4 separate regions of the Homo sapiens genome follow, and regions 1, 2 and 3 are each linked to region 4. The links are contacts of gene promoters, found by promoter capture Hi-C in blood cells and fetal thymus (Javierre and others, 2016). All regions are on one chromosome and are shown on one strand. Each heading gives the region's core, a stretch centred on a gene start or on the middle of the fragment in contact. The rest is flanking DNA. Distances are from core to core; before and after follow the strand shown. Region 1 holds the start of PPP1R15B (protein phosphatase 1 regulatory subunit 15B). Region 2 holds the start of ADIPOR1 (adiponectin receptor 1). Region 3 holds the start of PIK3C2B (phosphatidylinositol-4-phosphate 3-kinase catalytic subunit type 2 beta). Region 4 holds the start of ZBED6 (zinc finger BED-type containing 6).

The links. Contacts are between HindIII fragments. The CHiCAGO score rates a contact against its expected background, and 5 or more counts as called.
Region 1: a contact is called between the fragment with the promoter of PPP1R15B here and the fragment with the promoter of ZBED6 in region 4, in 13 of 17 cell types (non-activated CD4 T cells, fetal thymus, activated CD4 T cells and 10 more). The highest score is 23.4, in non-activated CD4 T cells.
Region 2: a contact is called between the fragment with the promoter of ADIPOR1 here and the fragment with the promoter of ZBED6 in region 4, in 6 of 17 cell types (naive B cells, naive CD4 T cells, non-activated CD4 T cells and 3 more). The highest score is 11.0, in naive B cells.
Region 3: the fragment with the promoter of PIK3C2B here is called in contact with the fragment with the promoter of ZBED6 in region 4 in 5 of 17 cell types (monocytes, fetal thymus, naive CD8 T cells and 2 more); the score reaches 9.4 in monocytes.

Annotation. Positions count from the first base shown.
Region 1 is chr1:204,410,472-204,413,171 of GRCh38, forward strand. PPP1R15B (protein phosphatase 1 regulatory subunit 15B) reads right to left here and starts at 1,346. Exons shown (of 2, transcript NM_032833.5): 1 at 1-1,346. The coding sequence starts at 940. RefSeq lists enhancers at 323-1,157, 464-613, 874-1,573, 1,584-1,633 and a silencer at 1,092-1,538. The HindIII fragment of the contact is 5,217 bases long and covers 1-2,700 here.
Region 2 is chr1:202,956,960-202,959,659 of GRCh38, forward strand. ADIPOR1 (adiponectin receptor 1) reads right to left here and starts at 1,353. Exons shown (of 8, transcript NM_015999.6): 1 at 1,226-1,353. RefSeq lists silencers at 1,022-1,581, 1,882-1,931. The HindIII fragment of the contact is 2,157 bases long and covers 1-2,123 here.
Region 3 is chr1:204,493,427-204,496,126 of GRCh38, forward strand. It overlaps PIK3C2B (phosphatidylinositol-4-phosphate 3-kinase catalytic subunit type 2 beta), which reads right to left and starts at 1,379. Exons shown (of 33, transcript NM_001377334.1): 1 at 930-1,379. It overlaps LOC124904584 (translation initiation factor IF-2), which reads left to right. Exons shown (of 2, transcript XM_047439554.1): 2 at 750-2,306. The coding sequence ends at 1,770. RefSeq lists enhancers at 569-758, 829-958 and a silencer at 1,059-1,528. The HindIII fragment of the contact is 4,413 bases long and covers 403-2,700 here.
Region 4 is chr1:203,794,301-203,797,000 of GRCh38, forward strand. ZBED6 (zinc finger BED-type containing 6) reads left to right here and starts at 1,323. Exons shown (of 17, transcript NM_001395895.1): 1 at 1,323-2,700. ZC3H11A (zinc finger CCCH-type containing 11A) reads left to right here and starts at 1,323. Exons shown (of 18, transcript NM_001376342.1): 1 at 1,323-1,494. RefSeq lists an enhancer at 1,024-1,443. The HindIII fragment of the contact is 5,182 bases long and covers 1-2,427 here.

The DNA of each region.
Region 1 (2,700 bases), core at 96-2,595, 620 kb after region 4:
GTAAATCTTGCCCCTTGCTAGCCTGTTGAAGGAATTCCAGCCGTTTCATGCGAAGATGGTGAATTTCTGGTAGGCCTTCCGTAGAAAGAGGTGGACATCCCTGCCACGAGGCCGGAATGAGTTCTGCACTCAGCGGCTGGGGATGACAATGGTCCTCTCTCAGGCAGCTGCTCTCTGGGGTTAGTGTCTGGAAGCCGACTACCTCGCTATTTCCATCACTGTTCTGATAGCTGACTTCTAGCCTAGGAAAGCAGTCCAGGTAGGAAGGGTTCAGCAAATAGGATACCACACTGAAATTGTCTATGCGTTGAATGTTTAGAGGCCCAGAGGGCGAAGAGCCAAGTTCCCGGTTAGAGTACAGACGGGATTGAAGGCTACTGGGCAACAGCTCCACTCCCCACAGCTGCTGCTCTAAGAGAAAAGCCTGTGCTGCAGGGTCCAAAGCACTTCCCTTGGCCTTAAGCTCCAATTTTAGGTCTGGGGGCGAGTATTGCCAGTGGATCCCCTCCTCTAGCCAATCAAGGGGACTGGTGACCGAGGGGTCTGAGGAGTCGAGCTGCAGCGAACTCAAAGATTTCTGCGCTGTGGGGGCGGCTGGTTTCTCCCGTCCCTTCAGGGCTCTCAGGGCGCTGTAGACTCCAGCAAAATCTAGCCATCTGGTCGGAAACATTCCACCGAAAAGTTGGCTCCAAATTAGCACCTTCTGAAGCAATCCGGGGAGCGGCGCAAGGAGCTGGGAGAGCAGTTTCGTCCAGTAACTGACCCGAGTCTCGGGCTGGGCAGAGGAAAGCAGTGTGGGGTTCCCGGAGTTTTCCGGGCCAAGAGGCGTCGGGAACTTAGAAGAGCCTGCTTGCGATCGCCGAGGGAAAAAGGGTGGCCAGAACCGGAAGCCCGCCCGAGGGCCAAGCCGTTTCCGCGATCCGCCTGTCCCCGGCTCCATCTCCTTTTTCTTGACAGTCTCTCAGGTAGGGCCGCGGCGCTCAGCGGCTGGAGGTCGACGGGATTCGGAGGAAGCCTACAGAGTCTCGGCCTTGCCCAGCGGTGGCGTCGCTGCTCCAGGCCGATCTTCGAGCCAGCAGAAAAGCCACAGAGGGCAGCGAATGCGGCAGCGGGCGGCAGAACACAGGGAAGAACAGCCCGCGCAATAGGCGGCGACTGATGCGACTTCCATCCTGGCGGGGAAGGAGGTTCCCTAGTCGGCTCGACGCTTCAACACCATGGATAGGAGTCCCCCCACGGCCTCGGCGATGGTTTTCCGACTGACAGAGGGTTGAAAAGCCCCTGAGCAACGCGATACCGGAAGGACTGGGTAGGCCGGCTGGTGCGGTGGAAGCGAAGCCCAAAATGGCCGCAGGGCCCGCGCGCCGGCAGGACACCCCCCTAGACGCCGGAAGAGACGCAGGACTGTTGGGCGTCTACGTCCCTAGCGCCGCGCCGCCCAACGTCACTCGCAAAATCCCCGGGGGGCGGGCCTTTCCGCCCACTTCCGTGTGGCCGCCGATTGGTTTTGCCAGATTTCCCTGTCGGCTTCCTTACTCGAGGTAGAGCCGCACGGCAGCGTGAGGTTGCATCAGCCGGGGCGGGGGGGGGGGGGGGGGGGGGGGGGGGAATGCACGCATGCGCAGTCGTTTCTGTGTGGTCTCCTAGGAGACCGCCCCAACAGCCCTCTAGGTTAAAGGTCTTGGGGAGGGGAGGGGTTTTCAAAATAACCCGAGAATTTCCCGGAGGCGTTTTGATGGCCTAATACACACTGACGTGTGTACAGTCATCCCCTCTCATGAAATGGGGATTAGTTCCAGGACCCCGTAGACACCAGAATCCGCAGACGGTCAAGTCCCTTATGTAAAATGGTATAGTGTTTGCATATAACCTGCATACACCTTCCCAGATATTTAAACCATCCCCTAGATTAAGTATAATACCTAATACAATGCAAGTGCTATGGAACTAGTTGTTATACTGTATTTATTTGTATTATGTTTTATTATCTTTATTTTTCCCGAATATTTTCAATCCATGGAAGGTTGAATGCCCCGCGGGCCAACTGTAGGGTTATCGTAGTCTTAGATTTTTATTATTTATTTATTTGAGACAGGGTCTAGCTCTGTCGCCCAGGCTGGAGTGCAGTAGTGCGATCTCGGCTCACTGCAGCCTCAACCTCCTGGGCTCCAGTGAGCCTCCCACCTCAGCCTCCCGAGGAGCTGGGACTACAGGCTCGCACCACCACGCCCAGCTAAATTTTTTTTTTTTTTGAGACGGATTCCCACTCTGTCGCCAGGCTGGAGTGCAGTGGCGCAATCTCGGCTCACTGCAACCTCCGCCTCCCGGGTTCAAGCGATTCTCCTGCCCCAGCCTCCCTAGTAGCTGGTACTACAGGCGTGTGCCACCACGCCCAGTTAATTTTTTGTATTTTTAGTAGAGACAGGGTTTCACCATGTTGGCTAGGATGGTCTCGATCTCCTGACCTTGTGATCCGCCCGCCTCAGCCTCCCAAAGTGCTGGGATTACAGGCGTGAGCCACCGTGCTCGGCCAATTTTTGCATATTTTTATAGAGACAGGGTTTCGTCGTGTTGCCCAGGTTGGTTTCAAACTCAGCTCAAGTGATCTGCCCGCCTCGGCCTCCTAAAGTGCTGGGGTTACAGGCGTGAGCCACTGCGCCCAGCCTGACAGATATTTCAGGGTTCTCCTATTGTTCAGTA
Region 2 (2,700 bases), core at 103-2,602, 840 kb before region 4:
TTTGCGGAGGTCTACCATAACATGGGCCTTCACAGGTAACATCAGTTTTTATGACTGATTTCCCAAGTGCAAATCACAATATGGGTACATAAAAGTTATTCCTGGAGTAAATACATTTAGTAGCTGCAAGCCGGTACCCTGACATTGCAATCTGTTTAGCACCACCCTAAATTCCTGGCAGTATACAGATAGTATACAACCTCAGGAACCGAAGTTGCACCATCGTAGCCTACCCAACTACTAGGAAAAGAGAAAAGCAGTGAACCGACCCCACTATTACTTCATTTCAGAAAAGAACCAGCCATTACAATCATTTGTTTTGTAGATGGCAGCCTATGTATTCTCCGCTGTATTTTCTAGCCCGTCTTCTGAATCACTTGAGGGAAGTACTATGGTTAATCTAGTAAAGTACCATGGCCTCCTAGCGCTCCTTTGACATCTGAAACGGTGTAAACTGAAATTGGCCTTGTCAGTTTCCCATTCTCCCAAAGAGCACCAGAAACTGAGGGAAAAAAAACACTTATCTATTTTCTTAAAAATCGAAGGCTTGAAGACCAAAATTCTCAAACAGAAGATAGAATACATCAATCCTAGATACCTAAGGTAATGAAATTTCATTTTCCCCCAAAGTACCTTCGATTCTGCCCCGCATTTCAGCCTTCAGGATTACCTTAACCCTGCAGAGCGATCACCAACCTCCCTTCCCACCCCATCAAAGTGAGGGCACTGTCAGGACTTGACCTGCCAAAGATTGTTGGTGGAGGAACCTTAGGGCTTCCTGGCAACCCAATGCGGCTGTTCCCCGCTGAGAGGCGGTTCGCGACCTAGGCCCGCAGCCCTCCCTCCCCACGCGCGGCGGCCTCGGGGCCAGGCTTAACTCTGGCTCTCTGGTCCCGATCTGGGGAACCCATGCATCTCCACCCCGTGGGGCTAAAGGCGCAGCACTCACAGGACTGCCGGGAGTCGGGGGACAGCCGGGGACGAGCGCCCACCGCACCTAGGCCGCCTCGGAGGCGGCGCGCAGTGGGAGGGGCCGGAAATGTTTACAACCTGACCGGCTGGATGCCTGGAGGCCAGGCGGCTCCTTGGCTGGGGCCCGAGCCCCCTGGCAAGTCGGAGCGGGTTCCCCCAACAGCTGTCTCCTCCGCAGGCCTGGGTCGGGGCCCCCGGGGTCCCCGCGCTCCCGCCGAGTCCCTGCCCACCGCGCAGCCCCTGGGAGACTTACAGCCGGGCAGGCGGGCTCTGCTGGGGGCCGCGGTCCCCCGCGCTACATCCCGCGGCGCTGGAGGCGGCCTGCGGCCGAGCGGCCCCGATCTTCAGCGCCCTCCCCGCGCCGGAAGGGGCGCGCGACCTCCCGCGTCACCTCCGCAGCCGCGTCACCTCCTCGCGGGCTCTGCCTGGGCCCTCCAATCCTAGGCCCTCTCGCGGAGTCCCAATCACAGGCCCGCGCCCGCCGGCCACACCTCCCGCCCCGGGCCCCGCCCTGCTGCCCCGCCTTCCCTGCCGCCTGCCCACCTCCCCGCCGCAGCCAGGTAACCTCCACCCGCCCCGGGGTAGAGGACGTTCGTCGGATTCTACACTCCACCTCGTTATCGCAGCCTGAAGTGCGTGATGGAGAAGAAATTTCAGAGAATGAGACAGAACGTCGGGAGGGAATGCTGAATTTTCTACCATACACCTTATCTCATCTCCTCTGTCCCCAAGGCTAGTCGTTTCACCTCTGAAACACTTCTTAATCTCTTCTTCAACCGCATGGTCCTTCCTTCCCTTCCACAAACTATTTATTGAGCCCCTACCATGTGCCAGGCCCTGGGCTAGACCTCAGTCTGCCTCCTGTTATTTTCTTATCAGAGAGCAGAATTGTTTCTAACTACTCTTGCTGGTGAACCCGTGCCCCAGTTCCTGCTCCCACAGGCACCTAGAGTGCAGATCGCGAGACAACATAGGGTAGTGCAGCCCTTGTCTGAACCACACAACACAGAAGGGGATTTCAGGGTCTGGCCATTTTCTCATTTCTCCCAAGAATGAAATAGTATTATTTTATTCCCACTTTTCAGATGAGGTAACTATCATTTGGAGGGGTTCACTAATATGCTCAAGGTCACAGACTGGCCAGGGACAGAAGCTTGGCTCTATGTGACTCTAGAGCCCCATGCTCTGGAGCCCCAGATACAGCAATACACAGTTGCTGAAAAGCAGAAAAGCAATGTCAATCTTCCTCTTGTGAGCAAACCTTTAACTCACAGGATTATCATAAGGATTAAACTATCTGATGTAGATAGAGTACTTGGCACAGTACCTCAATATGGCTGTTAACTCAAAAAAATTTTTAATTTTTCTTTTTTAGGGACAGGTTCTTACTGTCACCTAGGCTGGAATGCAGTGGTGCAATCATATCATAGCTCACTGTGCAACTAGTGCCATTCTAGAGGCAGAGAAAGTGACTCATTGTAATCTGATATAGGTGCTTCAGGGACGTGGGGTTAATTCTCTTGGTCCTAGTTAAAAGCATGGGCTCTGGAGTCACATAGAGCCAAGCTTCTGTCCCAGGCCAGTCTATGATCTTGAGCACATTACTGAACCCCTCCAAATGATAATTACCTCATCTGAAAAGTGGGAATAAAATAATACTATTTCATTGGGTCTTTGTCAGGATTGAGTGAGATAATTCATGCAGGCTCTTATTATGAGGCCTAGCCA
Region 3 (2,700 bases), core at 129-2,628, 700 kb after region 4:
CATGATTGGAAGGGCTGGGGCAGGGAAGCTACGAAGACCCCAGAAGCGGGTGGAGAGGAGAAAAGGCAGGCCTGAAGGAGCAAGAGCAATGGCAGAAAACACACACACACACACACACACACACACACTTCAACATCAGCCAACTAGGGTGTGTGCACTAACCTCATACATTTGGTAACCTCTTCCCACAATCCAGAAGCCTGCCAAGCCCCTGGGCTCCCCACCCTACTCCACCCCACACCAGCTTGGCAGCCTTGCTTGTGCTTCCTGCTGCGATTGCTCCTCCAACATCAAAGTCACCGCTGTCGGGAGCTGAAAATGAGGGACAAGTATAGGCCAGGAGAGCAGCGCCTTCTCCCAGCACCGGCGAACTCAGGCCTGAGGGTCCCTCTCCCTCTTTCAAGCTTTCAGTCTCCTTTTGCTGCAGTATCCTTATAAGGGAGAATCCAATTCTACCCTCCGCCCGACTAAGAAACGTACACATTCCCCAGGCTAGATGCCGACTTCTCACCCAGTCCACAGAAGGCACTAACCCCATCACAGGACAGGTTTTGCTTTTTTTATTTCTTATCTTAAATAAACAAACCCCAAAGCCATTGACTGGTTCAGATCGCCCTGCAGCTGGGAGCCAGGAAGTGTGTTTAGCGAGAAGGGGGTGGGGACGCGGGTGCCTGGAGCCCCAGAGGCCCTGAAGCTGCTGGAGTGGAGTGGAGTGGGGTGAGGGGCAACCTGCTCTGCCCGGCGGGCAGGAGCTCAGGCTCCCACGGCGTCCGCCGCTCAGCCCGCCGCCAGGAACCCTCGGCTGCTTCCATTGTTGCACCTCCGCTGTTGCCATGTTGGAGGGAGAGCCCCCTGACCTCGGCTGCCTCCACTCTGGGGGCACTTTACAGACGCTGGGGCCGATGCAACCCGCAGGATGCGTGTCCTACCTGCGCTAGCTGCTGGCTCTGCTGCAACATCCGACGTGTCTTGTGCCTGGCGACGTGGGCTGCTCGCTCCGCGCCTCCCGGGCTCGCTCTGCGGCTCCAGGCGCCTCTTGCACCAGCGCGAGAGGAGCTGGCCGGCCGCACGCCGCCTGCTCCCGGGCCGCTCCCCTCTCCAGGCTCCGCACAGACCCTAGGCTCCAAGGGGCAGAGGGAGAGGCAGCAAAGGGCGCAAGGACCAGCTTGTGGGGGTGGGGAGGGGTGCTCTCCGCCGAGAGCGTGCGCGAGCTCGCAGAGTCAGGCCACCCCGGGTGAGACAATAGCGGCAGCAGCGGGCGAGAGAGGGGAAGCCATCTCCCGGACACCCGGCGCACTGCACGGCGACGCGACGCTCGGCCAGACCCTGCCTGGACAGGCAGGCACCCGGCCGCCGGCTCCAGCCGCAGCGCCGAATCCGCCGCGAGCCGGAGGGCGGGGCGGCTGCTGGAACCCGGGCCGCCCTTCGCCTCTCCCCTCCCCTTCCCCCTCCTCTTCTCTTCTCCTCTCCTCCTCTCCCCTCCGACTCCCGCCCCACTTGCCATTGCGTGGGGGAAGAGAAACGCGCTGGCGTCAAGTTGTGCTCTGCAACCCAAGAGCCAGGATTTCCACTCCCCACTTGGGTGAGGGTTTTTGCGGATGGTCGTTAGTTTCCCCTGCTGGAACCCCTTGGCTTTGGGTCAGAGGAAAGCTCAATCATTCTGCTAGAAATGACGGTGCTGAGGTCCAGTTATCCGTTTCAGGAATTTCTACCATAATTACGGTAGCGATGTTCGGGGGATCCCCTACCTTGAGGGTTAGGTTGGGGTAGAGAGAGGCTGTCTCCGGGCTTTACACGCTCAGTGTCATTCGTCTTTCTGTCTCCTTCCTTCCTCCCTTTCTGGAAGGGGAGTCTCGTTTGTTTTTGTATTCGCCCAGGTGGATCTTCCGAGCTGCGATCCAGGAAACAGCAGTCAACCTAAGTAGGGAGGGGAGATAGAGGATCCTCCAACCCAACTAGGGTAGTGAGAAAAAAAAGTAAAAAAAAAAAACCTTTCATACAATATGTTATATTTAAATTTTCTACTCTAAATACCTTTCTTCCAGCAGTGGTCTCTGGAAGAATTTTCCTAAAGGCTCCACCCAAAAGAAACCATGAGTTGGCCAGCTCCTCGTTTGCATTTGGTTTGCATAGTACCAACGATCACTAATCTCAAAGTATATTTTCCTAAAAACGTGAATCGTGTTTTCCTCCACTGCCCTCATTTCTTCTTTCTTTCTCGACAGACTATGAAGATTAACACCTGGTCCTCAGCCTCTCAAGTAAAACCATGATTAAATAAATTTGTTATGCTTTTCTCTGGTTAACTTGTCTTTTGTTATAGAAGTGTCGGCTGTGACTCTTATGATGGGGAGGAAAGGGATCACTCCCCTTTCTGATCCTACAGTGCCTTCTGTACCCAATGCTTGTGACTTTCAGTATTCCACTTCACCCTCTGAATATCAAGAATAGCGTCCTCACCTATCACGCTTTCGTAATGATCAAAGGAGAGAATGTAGGTGAAACATCTTGATAATTAACTGAAGGCAGCTTGGTCTGCACATATGTCATAATGTATATGATGCTACTCCTGATCTCAGGAGCCACAGGGGTTAAAAAACGTGTCCGTGCACTTCTTCACCATACAAATATTTATGACAGCTTACTCTGTGTCTGTCATCAGGTCAAGCTCAGGAGCCTGAGAGAACAGAGTGTTACAGG
Region 4 (2,700 bases), core at 73-2,572:
AGGCTCAGGACCCCTCTGCTCTGATAAATTCCTAGTCTTGGGCTGCCTGGGACTCGCACATCACCAACCCGGCAGCTGGAAGAACAAGCACACGAGGAAATAAAAGGTGCCTGAAGTCCCATCTGCTTTATCATCAAGTGTTTCCTTTCTTAGTAGCACAACTATATCCTTTACCCAAGTTAGGTAAAATGTTGCCACCTAATTAGAGTTCTGCTGAGCCACTACCCCAGGGGGACCTTGGGCTCCTATTATATGTGTAATATATTTAAGTATATTTTCAGTGTAAAAGCCAGAAAGGATATATGGTAAGTTAATGAGAGCTATTTCTCAAGAATGAGATTAATAGAGATTTTAACTTTCTACTCTCTATATTTCTGTATTGTTTCTAAAAAAACTTACGTGTATTAAGTTTTTTACTTTTTTTTTTTTTTTTTTTTTTTGAGATGGAGTCTTACTCTGTCGCCAGGTTGGAGTGCAGTGGTGCGATGTCAGCTCAATGCAACCTCTGCCTCCCAGATTCAAGCGATTCTCCTGCCTCAGCCTCTCGAGTAGTTGGGACTACAGGCGCGTGCCACCACGCCTAGCTAATTTTTGTATTTTTGGTAAAGATGAGGTTTCACCATGTTGACCAGGATGGTCTCGATCTCTTGACCTTGTGATCCGCCTGCCGAGGCCTCCCAAAGTGCTGGAATTACAGTCGTGAGCCACCGCACCGGCCACGTGTATTACTTTTATAACCGGGGGAAAAAGTAAAAACATTCAAAAGGGAAAATAAGGGACAATGTTAATAATGAAGCAGGGATGAGACTGCTGATTGCGACCTCCAACTAACTCTCCTGAATTTTGTCACGAGCATGAATTACTTTTCCAATACACAAATTTGCTTTAAGAAATCAAAGAAACACCCCCCCAAAGCCCAATCTCACTTCTTCAAGTAAAAAATAAACTAACAAATCATTCTACATTGCATGCTTAGGAAAAGTACAGTTTATTTCTAAATTAAATGTATACATGGTTTGGGAGATTTACTCATTAAGCAAACACTTTGGTAAGAATAAATTGAGCGCTTACTGAATGGCAGTCTCAGTTCCTGCGGCCCTCCCGCTTATTACCTCATTTGATTTAAAAACAAAAACAAAACGTTATGAAAGCCGGCTTCGAGGCATTCCTCTGAAGGGAAGGGACTCCCCGACCCAGCGCCTCCCCCGTCACGTGACCCTGTGACCCGGAGCAGCCATCTTAGGCATCGCCTCATAGAGGAACTACATCTTCCAGAATCCTCGCGCCCTGCGTCGTGCTGGCACTTTTACCGGCCGGGCCTTAGAGCGGAGCCTGTAGCCAGGCGCCATCTTTGACGCTGGCAGTCTTGGTTTTCTGCTAGTGCTGCTGCTGCTGGGAGGACGACGGACGGCAGCGGCCAAGCAAGAAGAAAGACGTGGCAGCAAGCGGGAGTCGGGGATAGTGTCATCGGTTCGGTAAAGTTTCTGTTCTCTGGTAACTAGACCCGTTTTTTTGATTCCCGGGTGGCTTGGGGCCGGGGAGGTGGGGGAGAGGGCGAGGGGAGTGGCAGCGGCCTCCCCTCGCCCCTGGGTCGCGGCCTATCCCGGGAAGTCAGAGCGGATCCTTCAGCTTCGCCGTAACGACCCCTCCCCCCCACCTCCCGGTCGCGGCCCTCGCCGGGGCTGGCTGGGAGCCCCAGGCTCCCGCTCACTTTTCCCATCCTCCCCACCCCCACCCCGTTCACCCCACCCCCACGGCGCCTGCTCCTTTCCCAGCCAACCTTCCTCCCCTCCCCCACATCCGGTGTTCGCTAATCTCGAGGAGCCCGGAGCAGCCCCGAAAACCGACTGTTCCCCCGAATCCCGAAGAGAGAACTGACACTAGATTGCTTTCTTCGGGGCAACAGTTTCTCTAGTTGAGCGGACCCTCACTGCCTAAATCAATCAGACTGAGTGCCGGGCGCTGAATTTACCTACTCTCATTCCTCTCCAGGGTCCCGGTACTTTGGAGCTTGTCTCAAACTCCACATACAGAAAGCCACCGACCTTATTCCGGTATCCTACACCCATTCCCCACTCTCATTACACTCCCACCCCTGGCCCTCAGCGTCGGAGTCAAGAGCAACAGGGACACTTCCGTTCTCCTTGTAGGACTGGTGAAACCGTAATGAAGAACACCCCTAAACTCCCATAATCGGTGCGGATTCCTATGGGGAAGGCCTATATTGTTGACATCTTCCAGGCCTTGGTTCTGGACCTTGAGAAAGAGGCTGTGGAACTAGAGATAGCGATGCTTTTTAGGGTAAATGTATGTAGGTATTGGGGGAAGGGGAGGGATCAATCGAAAAATGGAAGTGGTTTAAAGTTCATATTTCACTTTTTGCTATCTCTATAGCGTACAACTTGTGAGTTACTTACAGGCTGTAAAAGCTTCTCAAGTCTAAAAATATCTGAAAACTAAACTTGAATTAACTCTTAATACAAACAGTACTTTGAAAATGCAGCATTTAACCTTGTTTTAAAATTTTTTTCTCAAAGCATTTTTTTCCAGCCACTCACATTTTAAAAGGTTGTATTACTTTTAGTTAGAACTGAAAGGGCTCAACTAGCATTTGCTGTGACCAGTATGCGGAGTCTGTGTTGGCTTTCCAGAATTGACTTTTTGGGTTGTATTGGCAAATCACAGTCCTAAATGATGAAT